Linked DNA regions of Homo sapiens: region 2 is linked to region 1. The links are contacts of gene promoters, found by promoter capture Hi-C in blood cells and fetal thymus (Javierre and others, 2016). All regions are on one chromosome and are shown on one strand. The core of a region is centred on a gene start or on the middle of the fragment in contact, and the rest is flanking DNA. Distances in the headings are between cores, read along the strand shown. Region 1 holds the start of KY (kyphoscoliosis peptidase). Region 2 overlaps LOC105374122 (a long non-coding RNA gene).

Region 1 (7,523 bases), core at 1,551-4,050:
GGAAAAAGGAAGAGATGGGTCTGGAGATTTGCAGGCTGAGCGTTCTGTTATTTGTCCCGTTGATTGTGTGAGCAGCTGGAGGGAGGATTTGAGCAGAAGGGATACAGCCTCTACTTGAATGATATCCCAGCCACCTCAGTGTTCTCTTGTCTCTCCTTCCCCTTTCCTGATACATCCAAATGCCTTCAGCCACATCACCTTCCCCATGGTGTCTCCCTCTCAGCCCAAGAATGGATAGTGGGGAAGAGGGGAAGCAGCTAAGTCAACCCAGGCCAAGGATGGGAATAGAGTTGGCATTAAGAAGAGCATCTCATCTATGCTCCTGGCAGGCCCCAGAAGCTAGGCTGTTGGACTGATGGCCATGGGTAAACCTCTGAGAAGAGGGTCTAGGTGTCAGGCACCATCAGGATCCAGGGGCAGCAGCATCTCCCAGAGCAGTCGAGGTGACTCCAATTTCAGGAGTTTGCTCCAAAGCGGTGTTCACACTGCAATTCTTTCCAAAGGAAACATTGGTCAATGTCTGGAGACATTCTAAGTTCTCACAATAGGGAAGTGAATGTGATTGGCATCTAATGCGTAGAGGCCAGGGATGCTGCTAGACATCCCACAGTGTACAGGAAAGCCCCACCAAAGAGAATTATCTGGCTCAAAATGTCAATAGCGCCAAGGATGAGAGGCCCTGCTCCGAAGCTGTCTTCAGACATAGCAGAGAGACAGGAGGCCTCCACACCATTTCCCCAGACCCCTGGCAGCACATTCCCAGGTCAGAATATCCTTCTCCAGAGGCAGTTCTGGGAGGGGGCACCAGAGTTTGCGAGTTCCTAGCAATGACACTTTCCAGCAGGAGAGCAAGGGTTGGGAGATGGGAATGCAAGTGTAAGGAAAGGGGACTTCAGCTCCCCCCACCATCACCAACACTCAGACCCATCCGGCAACCAAGGGTGCTGTACACAGGCTTCTAGTTGATTTCAGCACTTCAGACAACCTGACACTTGAAGGAGTTAGACAACACTGACTGGCCCAGGGTAGTTGGGGGGACTCTGGGACCTGAGATCTGCCTCAGCAATCTCCAACACCCCAAGAGCTTTGCATAATGCATAGTTCTTACTTCCCCAGCCACATAGAGAGTAAGTGTTAGCCAGCCTCCCAGGTGTGCGCGCGCGCGTGTGTGTGTGTGTGTGTGTACCTGCACACATACAGACAGGACAAGACTCACTTTAGCAGAAGGAAACCTGCCTTGGAAGTCAGCCATCTCCACTTGCCTGTCTATGGCCTCAGCTCTCTAGGGACTCCAGTTCAACATTACTGGAAGCCAACAACCTCTCCTTCCATCAGATGCCCAGTGGGTGAGTCAGGGGGTGGGGTGGTGGGGGGGGGCGCTGGTAATGCAATAAGACAACAGCCTTTACACGGAACCAAACTCTGAGCCACTGTTATTGGAGGAAGACCTTCAGAATCTCAGAGTGTGGCTGTGACATCTCTCCTGCTTCTCTGCTCCATCAGTCACTTGTCACTCCATCTTTCCCTTTCCTCACCCTTAAAATGAAGTAAGAATGACAGCTACCATATGAAGACCACTTTCTATACACCAGGCGCCTTACATTCATGCCATTCTCACAACAGCCATGTGAGAAATTTTTATCAACCCAGTGATAAGGGTGAGAAGGTGGAGGGAAAATGGCTGGTCCAAGGTCACACAGCCAGGAAGTGATGGAGCTGGTACTGGAATGCAGTCTGTGTGACACAGGCTGCTCCAAGGAGGATCTGGGAACTCTCAGGACCATGCTACAAGGTGGGGTCCATACACTCCAATGCGGGGAGGGCTCCCAGAGCAAAGGCCTCCATGTGGGGGTGCATTTATTAACAGTAGAAACTCGAATTAGGGGAACGCCCCCAGCAGGGTGGGCCCGTAGTGCCCAGGGGTACCAGGCAGAAGCCTATGTAAACACTCCTGAGACCTACAGCCAAACCCCTGCTGCTGTTGGCTGGGCAGGCCAGGCCGGGCTAAAAATAGAAGGCTTCTCAGGTCCAGCTCCCTGTGCCCCAGCCTCCTCCTCTCCCCCTCCCTCCTTCCCCACAGGGCAGGAGCCAGGCTTCTAGAACGAACCGAGACTTTAAGACTTTCGTTTCAGATCAAAGAGGATCGTTAGCTTGATACTCAATGGGCATGTTCCAAGTTCTACAGGGGCCGTAACTGGGGGGAGCTCCTGACTCCAACACCCCACCCAACTCCCTCCTAGGGAGAGAGAGCTGTCAACCTCCAAAACCAACCCAGGGAAGGAGTGAGGTCGAGGCCAAAACTTGGACAATCTCTGCACATCTTGCAATTCAATCTGGAGCCCCTTTGCTGTCTTTCCTTTTCCTGAATCTACTCTCAATGTTGACAGCACTGTGCGATTTCTGTATTTGCCAGGGGCTTCTCGTGGGAGGTCGGCTCCAGCCCTCTCGAGAACCCTCCGGAGACCGTGGGGATGAGGCAGCGCTCAGCCAGAGAAGCCCTGGAGCCCAGGACCAGCGCTTCAAGTGCACCGGGCGGGAGGCAGGGGCGCAGGGAGGGAGGCTCTGGACCGGCCGCCCCTGCTGACTATGGCCCCGGTGCAGGTCAAGGCTTGGGCCCGGGGATTTCCTTTCAAAGGTGACTTAGAGCCGCTTCATTAGGGTAGCGCCCTCCCAGGCGGGCCCTAATGGCGTGTTTGGCAGAGTCAGCGAAAAGCAGCGCCCTGCGGCTCCAGCGGCGGGGGAGCGCCCTCTTCCGCGCCCTCGCCCTCTCCCGTGTGGGGCAGCTGCGCGCACGGGGCCATTTGCAGCGCAAGCAGCCTAGCGTGCGGCCGCGGCGCCCAGGTCGGAAAGGAGGCGGCATCATGGAGCTGAAGAAGGACATCAACGCTGTATCTATCGACATGCTGCTGATCGTGCACTCGGAGAAGCGGCGCGCCGCACAGGGTACGCTCTCAGACCAGCAGGCGAACCCGAGCTCGCTGCTGCAGCGCGGAGGAGGTAACGCGCGCCCGACCCGGGTCCCCGGGTCCCCCGGCACCTTGGCCTCCTTGCCACAAGGGCCTGCCCGCCGGGGGGCGCCCATTGCTCCCCCGAACGAGGTCAGCGAACCCGACCCTCTCCCCCATGGCTGCCGTCGCTTCCCCGCAGTGGCACCGGCGTCCCGTGGCAACGCGCAGTCCCGTGGCAACGCGCAGCCCCGTGATTGCCCCAGTTTCACTCCCTGTGCAGGCCTGTGGGTGCTTCCGTCACCCCTGGGAGTCTTTTTCCTCCCAGCCACTCCCTAACGGGTGTAGAGCAAGATTGGAAGATACCCTGGAGGAAGGCGGCCAGAGCCTCAGGGCTGACTCATGGGTAGCAGAGGCCTGCTCCCCCCCACAGCACACTGCAGGGCACAGGGGACGCTGGGAAACCTTTGGGCTGAGTCAGACTTTTAGATGGGGAGCTCCCTGTGTGGCCTTGCACAATTTACAGCCTCAGTTTCTCCTTTCTTGAGACTTTCTCCCAGCCTCCTATAGATGGAAGGCATGAAAGGCGTAAAAGGAACGCAGGTTTGGATAGGGTAAGATTTGAAACCTGCTGTCTCCACTTGAACTTATCCATCAATTTTACTTGTCCTACACACTTTCTGGGTAAATTTGTAAGTTGTAGATTGGTAAAATAAAGTGACTGTTTATAGAGTGATTGTGGAAAGCAGGATCCGGGCCTCTCTGTTCTCCAGACGACAGAACACAATGTGAATGGAGTACAGAGGGATGATAATGGAGGTTAAATAAGCCCCTGAAAAGCCAGAGAACCTCAGGGTCCTGGATGGCAAGCTGTCTCCGAGGCTGGTGTGAGGATGCACTAGGCGGACTGCGGGCCAGTTCTTTAGGAGTTAGGCCTGACAGCCCATGCAGGAGAATGACTTCTGCCTCTCTCCTCCCCTCCAGCTCTGGAGCTCCTTGGAATTCCTGCTGCTGCTCTGCCCTTGGTTCTTCTGTCCCCAGAGCCTCTGTGCTCATTGAACATCCACCTTCCACCTGCCTTGCTTAAGTAATGCTGCTGTGGATGGCCTTGCCACTACCAGCCACATAGGCTGGAGCTGCCTCCAGAGCCCTGGGAACCTCTTGGGAAGGCAGGCAGGGGAAAGAAACAGAATCTAGAGGGCTGAGTATGTTGACAGGCGCTCTAGTCTCAGGGCTGATTCCTGACTGAAGCAGGAGTTGTTTGGATTCGTTGGCTCTTTAGTTATCAGACCTACTCTTGGGAGAAGGGGAAATGGCCTGCCCAGGGTATTTGTAGTTAGAAAGTCAACAGAGGGCATCAACTTCTTGATAGAAATGAGACTGCTCTGAATACATGTACCACAGTCCAGAATGCCTTCTCCAGTGTGTGGCGAGGCCTAGTTCCAGGTCAGCCCACGAGTCCCCTACTCCCAATCCTCTCTGATCACATCACTTCTAAAGGCTCTGACACTAGAAAGGGCAAAGAATGCAGAGAAGCCCAGGAAACACCAGGCATCAGGACTGCCCTGAGAGGTGCCCAACACCTAGCACAAACTCGCCATGGCTCCAGACTCATGTATGCACACTAGTGACTATGACAGAGAAAAAAAGACCCCTAATGGCTGGGCCCTTTCTGCTGAACTTTTTCTCCAAATATTTTTCTGATGGCCGTTTCTCACCGATGCTATGAATGACAGTGTAGAGATCTGTGTCACTTATTCACAACCAGAGCAGAGAAGAGGAAAAGTGCATGGCTTTTGATGCCTGGTGGGCAGAGATGATATTCAGGAGACCCCAGGCAAAGCCAGCCTGCAGACCCTTTCCTCGAAAAACAGCCTAAGGGAGGAAAATGCCCAATAAGACCAGCTTGTTCCAAAGCCTCCCATGGGTGCAAGATATAAAACAAACTCTTGCTCACTTCCAGGTATCTCCTCCTTTCTCCTCCACACTCCAGATCCTCCACTGGAGAGTGGATCTTCCTTGGTTATATAAAAGAGGGCCTAGGCTCCATGTCAGAAAAGATCAAAGCTCAATTATTGTTGCAATGCAGAGGATGGAGTAATCCGTAACGAGTGGCCCTTCTGCTGGAAGGGCCTTCTGCTGGAAGTGGCCCTTCTGCTGGAAGAAAAGAGTCAGGGGGACAAGAAGGCAAGGAGAGTGTGGACAGGCTAGGTCACTAGGAATTTGGGCTGCAGAGCCAGCAGATGTTCTCTCCCATTTCTGTAAGGCCCTAGCAGCCTCCCAGTCATTTCCCTAGAACAGTGCTTCTCCAAAACGTGCCTGAAAGCCCTCAACTCCTATCAGAAAGTAGAGTGCATATACTCCTGCAGCAGTAGAGGATATAGCCTATAGCTGCCTGGGGCAAGACCCAATGAGCTTTGAAGTCTTAGGTCTTATCCCAAAAGTCTATGTGGTTTGTGTATTCTACTCCATAGGTGTGTCATGAGGGTTCCAAGTGGTAAGTCACTGGCACTGGCTATGGGGGGCTCTGCAGAAAAGAAGGGTGTTAAGAAGAGAGTGGCGGCCCCTGAGTGGTTGAGAGGGCTGGAGAATAAGACTCAAGGCTGAGCTTCCAGGAACAGTACCGTAAGCAGCACCAACGAGCTGGTCTAGTGAGGAAACCTCCTCGGCCACCAAGGAGCACTGAATACTCCTTCCGCGCCAGGATCTCAATTTTATTGCAGCAGCTCCCGCTGCCAGAACGTATCCCCATGCTGTGCCAGGAACTCGACCTTGCGGCTACCACTTGCAGCCGCAGCCAGAGCGAGAGCTTTCCTTCCCTTCCCTGTTGCATCACCAGGTCCCAAGGCAGAGTGAAACACAGGTACATCAGATTGGCCATGGCTAGGCCATACGTGTTTACCCTCTAGCTGCAAGGGAGGCCAAGAGAACTGGCAACTGTCATTTTCCATTCCCATTGGGATTGACGGTCTTAGCCCACTCCCCCCACTCTATATCAAGACTCTAAAAGTGGGTGATTCACCACATACAGAAATAGGCAGGCAATGTGGATAGCAAATGACTTCTAAAATAATGCTTTCATATGTATGCAGTGGAGAGGTGGAAGTGGAAAATGGGCATCTGTACTACAAAAATTCTCCCTAAATGACCCTGATAACCAACCCTGCTGCCCTTGAAAACTGTTTTAACAGTTTTTAAATGTTTTGAATTTTGAGAGTTGCATTCATTCCCTCAAGGGCATCTTATTCATGGGTAGCCTCTCTCAGATTCCAAGAGAGCCAAGATCCACCTGCTCTACCATAACCTAGATAAGTCTGCAACTGGTACATCACTCTTTTGCCCTGAGTCTCCCACCTCAGAGAAGCTTGTTATTTTGCAGGATTCCAAGGTGTTGGAAATGGAGTCCGAAGATGGCAGAAATTAGAAGGAAATGACTTTCACGGTAAATTCTCTTTTTCCTTTCAACCTATAGGATTTAATACATTGAATAATAACTGGAAGAATTGGGTTTCACTCATTTGAAGACTAGCCCTAGACATCTAACCACTGAACGGAAAGTGGCTGCTCCTGACCCAGCCAGGCCTCTAAGGGCCACTGTGACTGTGGGAAGTGTTCCCTGGAGTCAGGTCCCCTGCTCTCCTGGAGGCTGTGGCTGAAGAGCAGTGCCAGGAACTTGAGCACCCATTTGTTTGCTGGCTGAGCCGTAGGGGAGGACTTAACATCCCTTGGGATGGTGAGGTTTGAGTGTGCTCCTATGAGAGGCAGCCATCTATCTTTTGAAAATGTTTCCCAACAGAGAGGATAGTCGTCTGCCTTGGGACAGTATGACTTGAAGCCTGAGAAGATGCCACTCAAGGGTTCTATAGCTCCCTGCTGGCCTGGGACCCAAAATACAATAAGAAGTCAGCTTCCAAAGCCTCTTTTTTCCAGTGCCAGGCATCTGCCACCCCAGGCCCAGGATCTCTGTGGTAACACTAAGGGGCCAAGTATAATGGGCTTTATTCTATTCCCTTTAGGGTTCATTAGCCCAGCCTCCAGGGACAAACATCAGGGACACTGCACAGTGGGCACGTGAAGGTTCTAATAGAGACCAAACCTCTACTCCCAGAGCCCCAGTAGAGAACTCCATCAGCCCGCAGCTATGTGAGCCCTAGGATCAGATGACTGGCTTATCAAATGCCAGTGTAAAGGAACCACCCTCCATGACACAAATGGGGAAATAGGATTGCAGATGAATAGGACTAAACTGCTATGTTCTACCATCCTTCTGACAATAATGAAAGGGAAAGATGAAGTTCTAAAAGTGAATTCATTCACTCATTCTGTTCACAAATGCCTATAGTGCTTACTTTGTGCCAGGCATGATTCTAAATATTGGAAATGAAACAGGGAAAAAGACAGCCAAGAACACTGCCCTCAGGGGAGCTACATTAAAATGATTGGAATTATAATGCACTGCAGGGGAGTCTCAACACCCTGGAGTTGAAGAGTCTTCCTGTGTCCCCTGCCTTTGGTAAGAGTCCTCAAGACACACTCCCCATCCCCACCCCACCACTGCCAGGGAGCCACCCTGACAGG
Region 2 (7,523 bases), core at 2,516-5,015, 850 kb before region 1:
AGGCACTGCATCCTGGAACAAGCAAAGCCACCTCTGTGCCGTTGCATCCCTCTTCTTGTTGTCCAGCTTCCTCCCACTCTATTGGCTACCAGTTCAGAATTCTCATTCTTGTGCTGTTCACTGTGTTGCTCTTTGCATCTCTCCTAGCCTATTAAGGACCTGGGGGCTTATACTCAAACAATGCCTCACCTTGCCCATTGAAATACAGCAGCAACAACGAGTCCTGCTGTGAGTGAGTAAGGCCGGGGTAAGAGGGGCAACCGACCCTTTCTTATCTCTGGATCCAGGTCCTATACCACACAATTGTTTTAACAGGCAAGGTTGGATATTTTTATATATTTTTATTTGCTAGTTAAGGCTTTCCTTATAGAAATTTTCTGTTTATGTCCCTTGCCTACTTATCTATTGAGGACTTTATTCTTTTATTTTTTAATCAATTTATATGAATTCTTTATGTAGCAAAGATATTAAACAATTTTTGCAATATTTCTGCAAAATTATTTCTCTGTCCAATATTTGCTTGTTTCCTTGGCTTTTGCTAGCCAGAAGATGTGTTTCCTGAGTGTTAGGTTTACTCCTATAAATAAGACGGACCATATTCAAATGTGTGTACCTTTCTCTTATCTTTACATAGCCTATAACATGTTTTCTCAGACAGTGTAAGTCTCACTCTGGAATGCTCAGATTAGCAGCCAAGGATGTATTCAGGGGGGAGGGAGAAATTGGATACTTCTGTGACAGGAATGGCTAGTGACATTTTCTCCCTGATGAGGTTCTATGTTCCACTCTTCCTTAATGCATTCTAAAATATTTATTGAGCATCTACTCTGTGCCAGGCATCACTGCCTTGTACATTCTAGGCCTTCGTTTAATGGCCACTGAGATTTAATTGAAGTTTGATGAGATGGATGCACTGTACACTATATCAGTAAAGTTGACTATAACCACGTTCTTAGAGTTATAGAGACTCTACAACTTTAGAGTCTGTAGAGATAATCTTGATTGAGCAAGACAGATATAGTTCCTCTCCTCCAGGGGTTCACAGAATATTGAAGAAGGCAGAGAAGTAAAAGAAAATTACAATAAAGTGTGGTAGGAGCTGTGATGGAGGACAGGGGGTGGGGACCTTGAAAATATATAGAGGGCACCTAGCTCAGATGTGAGGAACAAGGCAAAGCTTACTAGAGGTAGTGATATCCAAACAAAGACCTGGAGAATGTCTAAGAATGGCTGGGAGAACAAGATTGGAGATCAGAGTATTCTTGCAAAGGCACCAGCTCAAAAAACTCCTGAGGGTGAGAGAGAAAACTTGTGTCTTTGAGAATCCAAGGTGACAAAAAGCGAATCCTAGAGAAATGGGTTAAATATTATCATTATCAGCACTTGAATTATTTGACCCCCTTTCCTTTTGTTCCCCTACCCGTTTGTAAAATACACCACCATTATCATTTACTAATGAAAAGGGAGTTGGCCTGAAAATCAAGACACTTGGTTATTACTCCTTGTTCTGCCATAAAAGAGTTAGTTATGTGACTTTGGTGAGTTTAAGGTCCACTCTAGGCCTCTCTTCTGTTCTGTGAAAGCAGGGGACCAGGAAGAACAATGTCGCATACACATCACAGACAGTAGGCTGCATCTACTATCTTTGAGGCATAGTTGTTGAATGGCACTAGGGTCTGTCTTCTTCCCATTCATCATGTCTGTGTTGCTCAAGAAAGGCATCTAAACCTGAGGACAAATAGCCAGAGTCTAAGAAGAGGTGTTCCTATGCCCAGTGAACCAAATCCTCCAGCTAGAATCTGAACAGTCCCTACCCCCAACTCCATAAAACCTTACCCTGTGGGCTATTGATTTCCACAGACAGGAGTCAAGCCAATAAGTTAGAACTCCTGGAGGGCAGATAGGGACTGTTTGGGAGATTTTTCAGGCAGTACCTAATACATTAGGGGTCCTCAGTTAATATTCATTGAAGTTTCATTGAGGTTTGATGAGACAGATGAACCATACAATATGTCAATAAAGTTAAGTATTACCCTAACCACATTCTTAAAGTTATTAAAAATGTCAAGAGCAGGGTGATTTATTTCCTCATTCTATGGAAATATTGCAAAGAGAGTATGTATTAAAACGTGCAGAGCTTAAATAATAATGATTTATCTTTCTGACTCCATCTTGAGCTTAGTGTCAGTGACTGTTTCTGGTATCATCTGCCTCTTTCAGGTCTTTGGCCTTTTGACACCATTTTTAGCCCTAAGAGCAATGGGAGATTGCAGTACATGCTGGAGTTTAAGGAACTGGTGCAAATTCATTCCCCAGCCACCGCCTGTCTGTGGACGATCCCTAGCAGCTGCCAAAGTGTGACCTTTTACATTTGACATCATTGCCCCTGAGTAATAGGTACTTTAGCAGGGGAATGACAGAGCTCTGACCTTGAGCTGAAACCTGAAAAATGTGGTTCCTATTCTGACATAGTGTGTCTCCCAGGAGAGTTATAAGCAATAGCAACTGAGGGAACTCAGGAGGGAGAGGGAGTTAAGAGTTATTTGCTCTGGGAATTTGTGTTCATGTTGAATCCCTTGCAGCTGACTTGCAGCACAGCCTGCTGTGGAGCAGGGCTCCTGACAGGGCGAGCCTTGAGATTCTCCACCGTGGGTCTCAGCCACAGCTTCTCTAGGACACCAGGAGATACCGCCCCTCAGAGTATGTGCTTGTGTGTCTAAGATGCACATCCCTTAGGAGCTGGAATGGCACAAACAGCTTTGCACAGCTACAGCTAAGCACCATGTACCAAGAACCTCTTGTTAAAAAATAATTTTGATGCTTCGTAATAACTATGTGATTACAAACCCTGTGAAAAATGACAACGGTTAAAACAAAAACTAGCCTTGCAAGCTATGTGCAGCTTTGGCAAAGCATGTTCTCTTGAGTCCCCTCCCCAGCTGCTCAAGGGCACCCCTTCTTTCAGGATCTCCCCTCTGGACACGCTGCTGCCCAGGGCTTTGTGTACGCTGTACTCCAGCCTCCTGCCTTCCCCATAACCGGCCCAGCAATCGGTACCGTTCTCGGCCTCTCGGGGGCACCAGAGCTCTCTCATAGCAAGGTAGATGCTTCTTGAGACAAAAGACGGGGATTTTGGCTGCCAATTTGTCTTTAACATTGTGTAAGGTCTGTCTCTACACAGAGCAGGCCATATACAGACCCGAATCAGGGCGTGCATTGTTCTGGCTTTTCTGTTGCTGGGAGAGGGATAATGGTAGCACACGCCCTGAGGTGCAGGGGAGCTGGATTTTGGTGCCTTTTGCATCCGAGTCCACCTATGAGGGCGAGTGGCTGGAAGAACAGGTCCCTGGAGTCAGACCTCATAGGACAGGAGGCTTCTCTTCGCCCCTGCCTGATGCTTCATGGAGTCGCATTCAGCAGTGAAACAAAAGGTGCCAGAGAAACAAGGCAAGTGAAAGTGATAGGAGAAAACGGCAAAAGGAAAGGGGCAGGAAGAAAGAAAGAGAAAAAGGGATTGAAAGCTAGGAGCAAAATCAAGAATGAGACCAAGAAAAGCTAATGTATGGTGATTGTTCTTACCAGTGTTATGGATTTTGGAGCAAAACAAATTGTAGGAAGCAAACTTCCCCAAATGTGAGTACTTAATAAAAAAGAAAACAGAAGGATTGATAATGGAAATTAGGCTAATGAATAAACAAGCTGCTTAAAAAATAGGTTTCTCTCGCAGTCCGTTATTTTTAACTTAGTGGCAATTTGCATACTAGTTAATTTGCATATATTAAATACTGCTCCCCTTCTCCTTCCCACCTCCTCCACTTCAGAATAACATTTCATTACGGTGCTGCTGGGCCAGAGGACTCTGAGGCTCTGGAGAGTTTATTAATTTATCCAACACATGCTGTGTACATTTTTATCACTTGCCGCACAGTGGACCCGGTATCTTTGAAGTCATTAACAACACGAGGGGTGTTCTGCTCGAGGTATTCAAAAGAGAATGAGAAAAGCCAGCCTGCAATAACTGTACCAAAAAACAGGAAAAGATCGTGTATGGTTTATGTTCTTTCTAGGAATACAAAAATGAGCAAGGGATGACTCTCTCATCCGCATCAGAGAGCTTCTGTTTTGTTTATTTGTGTTTTTATTTATTTAAATTTTGAAGCAAAATGGAAATGATTCCCAGTGGGGTGCAGACATCCAAAAAAGCACTAGCCATGCATACTATTTCTCCTGCCTCTGCCCACACTGAAAGGCAGGCTAGAGAGTGTGGCTCTTGGGGGAACCTCCATTACTGCTGATGAGAATAATAAACCAACAGGTGAGGGCCACAAGCAGCCACTCTACTGTGGTCCTAGGGCTCTGCCTGCTGTCACTGCTGGGCGTCACGGGGACCATCCCTGGACTGCACCTCCTCCTTAGTGCGCTCTCCCAGGGCGCCCTCCCACCACTGTCTCTCTCCCTTGTAGCTTCGACCTACTACAATTTAGGGAACTACTAAATTGAGCTTCTACTGGCATACTTAAATGCCCTGTAGTGGGTCGTGCCACCTCCCATGGGAATAGAAGAAGGCTACCATTTCTAAGAAGGAGCTTTTAAAAAGTGACCACCTGCATTAATCCTGATGCCATTTTCTGATGCCATTTTCTAATGCCATCCTATCAGTTTAGCTATTTGTCCCTCTTTCTACTGTCCCAGGTGCTTAAGTTGAAGAGAAACCTGTGTATTTGTCTAGAGCTTGAAGTGTTTTCCCCAGATGCCAATGCAAATTAACAAATTTATTCAATCATTCATTCATCAAATATTTATTGAATGCCTACCATGTGCCAGACATTCTAGGCATGGGAAAAATGGAGCTTACATTCTCATGGGTGGAGACAGACAATAAACACATAAATGATAAAGTGATATTTTTCTAGAGTTAAAAACACTAAGAGGAAGGATAAGTAAGGTGTGGGGTAGCTAGTGACCTGAGCAAGGGAGCATTACTTTAGCTAAGCTCAGCAGGGATAGCATCTCTGAGGATGTGACATTTGAGCTATAACTAAGGAGAACTAGAAGTAGGCAGAGTTAATTCACGGTCTTGCGGCCATCTTTGTGCTTGGTTTGGTCCTAGTTGGGCTTTTAGTTCAGTGAATTTGCATTTAGCTGAAACAATCTGTCAGCCCCAATGTGTTCACCACCACTGATCCCAAGGTGAGTACTGGCTTGATGTTTCTGGCTTAGTGGAACAGCAGCTCTTTGGGCCCTTACACCATTCAGGTTACCTTTTGTGCAGAATGAGCAAGATTCAGACTTTGAATCTGAGAAGAAACTCCTCTGAAGGAGACAGTTATGTGCAATGGTTAAACCTGTCCGACAGCCTGGGTTGAATCTTACTAGGTTTGTGACTTTGGGTAAGTTACATTACCTCTCTGCAGTTTAGTTTCCCAACTTGTAAAGTGGATATAATAAACGTAGAGGACCTGGCATGTAATAAAGTCTCAATAAATGTGCCCAGGTTTTATTCTCCAGAACATGTAGACTTTCCTCCCTCCATCACCCTCAAGGATAAGGATTCTAGTCCATGAATGGAGGATGTGGAGACTTTTGATGTGTGATAGTAAGCATATACAAAGAAAAGAAAATCATCTAAGAGCAATTTCTAAGCCCCTTGTGTCTTGAATCAAGGAATCAGATAGCCTTGGGTTTGAAACCCACCTCCACCAGGTTATTAAAAATTTTGACTTCAAGCAAGTTACTTGATTATGACTCAGTTGCTCATTTGTAATATGGGGATAATCATAATGTCTACCTTATAATGCCATTACAAGGATTAATGATACAGTGTCTGTCAACCATAACACATAAATAAATGTTAGCTGCTATATTTAATATTATTTCACCTGCCTGGCCTGTGGCAATAAGTAGTTTGATCCTCTTGATTAACAAGCAATGCTTAAATTCTTCACATATTGTATTGATTTTTTTTTTTTTTTTTTTGCCAAATTACTCTCAAACTGGCTGCCACACTGCCATTTCAGTGTAGTTTTCTCCACCACCAATGCCTTTGTCCCTGCCTACGTCAATGTCTTCTTTCCCCAGGACAACTGCAATGGCCCTGGCTTGTCTCGCCACTTCTCCTCCTGCCCGCCTCCAAGTCCTTCACCACAAGGCAGGCAGAGGATCTTTGTAGAGTGTAAATCAGCCATCCAGTGGCTGTCATTCACTCCTCTAATAAAATTCAAACTCCTAACCCTGGCCTGCAGGCTTAATTGACCCTTCCCTTATATGTCCAACCTTAGCTCTTCTCACTTTCCTCCATGCCTGCTGTACTCTAGCCACACTGGCCTTTCTACCCTTAAACATGCCAAGCTTTTTCCTGCTTTAAGGTTTTCAGGCATGTTATTTCTTCTCCCAAAATGCCCTTTCTGTGCTGTGGTTGCTGGTATAATAGTGAGGGATTTCATTTGACTATGAATAACAGAACATTCTGATGACAGTACTTCCATATATACAGGGTTTTTTTCTTTTTCATTCAATTAGAAGTTTAAAGAGGTTGCCTTGGTCATTGGCTCAAAAATATGAGAGAAAAGATCCCTGTCTTTGCTTTTCCCTTTTGTTTGCAAGATGACTCCCATAGCACCAGCCATCTTATCCATATTTCAGATAAAAGAAGTTGCTGAAGAGAAGCAAGAAAGGGCAGTCCTTATATTAGGGAAGCAACACCTTCTCCGAAATTATAGCTTATACCTCAATGGCCAAAGCTGGGATATGCGTGTTTTAGTTAGGTACACTGTGCTGTGCACATAAGCAAAATAAGGAAGAAGTGAAATGTATTAGGCAAATGGTGGTGTCTGCCATAGCTGGCTTCTATTTTTTTGGGTTCAGGAAATGAGAGTGCATTTTCTTCTCAAAGAGGCCTTTTCTGAACATCTTGTCTAAGTAGTTTCGCTCCCTCTCATTATTCTCTGTCATAAGCCCTTTCTGTTTCCTTTGTAGTGCTTTTTATAATTGTTTAATTCTTTGTTTACTTGTTTGTCATATATCTTACCATAGGCACCATAAGGGCAGAGACTATGTCTGCTTGGCTTGCTACTGAATCCTTAGAACTCAGCTCAGAGCTGGGCATCAGTGGTTTCTCAAGAAATAATTCATTGAATGAATGGGTGAACCAGTTAATAAATGAATATAGGATACCTCTAGGATGTTGGGAAAGTTCTTTTTTCCTTTCCCAGACTACTCCAATCAAGGGGAATCACCCCCAGTAGAATTGCTAGGTAGAAATGAACATAGTAAACTAGTGTTAATAAGGGGCTTTGTCAAATTAACAAAAAACAAAATGTCCAGAAAATGAATTGCTAGATTCTTATTATCACATATTTTCACAAGTGCTCAGCTCTGATCATTGAGAAGTTTCAGTAGTTGAGAGTGAGTCAGATGTGGCAAGTTATAGAGATGTTCTGGATTACACAGGAAATGCAGAATCTAAGCTCAAAACTGTCCTTTGGGAATGTTATGCACCCAACACTTGGGTTGGGAACATATTG

The links. The method cuts DNA at HindIII sites, captures the fragments that hold promoters and counts their contacts. A CHiCAGO score of 5 or more calls a contact.
Region 2: a contact is called between a fragment that was not itself captured here and the fragment with the promoter of KY in region 1, in 1 of 17 cell types (endothelial precursors). The highest score is 5.3, in endothelial precursors.

Annotation. Positions count from the first base shown.
Region 1 is chr3:134,646,299-134,653,821 of GRCh38, reverse strand. KY (kyphoscoliosis peptidase) reads left to right here and starts at 2,800. Exons shown (of 11, transcript NM_178554.6): 1 at 2,800-2,997; 2 at 6,325-6,387. The coding sequence starts at 2,862. It also overlaps a transcript of CEP63 not described here. The HindIII fragment of the contact is 8,919 bases long and covers 1-6,311 here.
Region 2 is chr3:135,499,591-135,507,113 of GRCh38, reverse strand. All of the region lies in intron 1 of LOC105374122 (a long non-coding RNA gene), which reads left to right. Among named protein-coding and RNA genes, the nearest start is that of PPP2R3A, 460 kb to the left of the region's middle. RefSeq lists a silencer at 3,193-3,487. The HindIII fragment of the contact is 5,171 bases long and covers 1,180-6,350 here.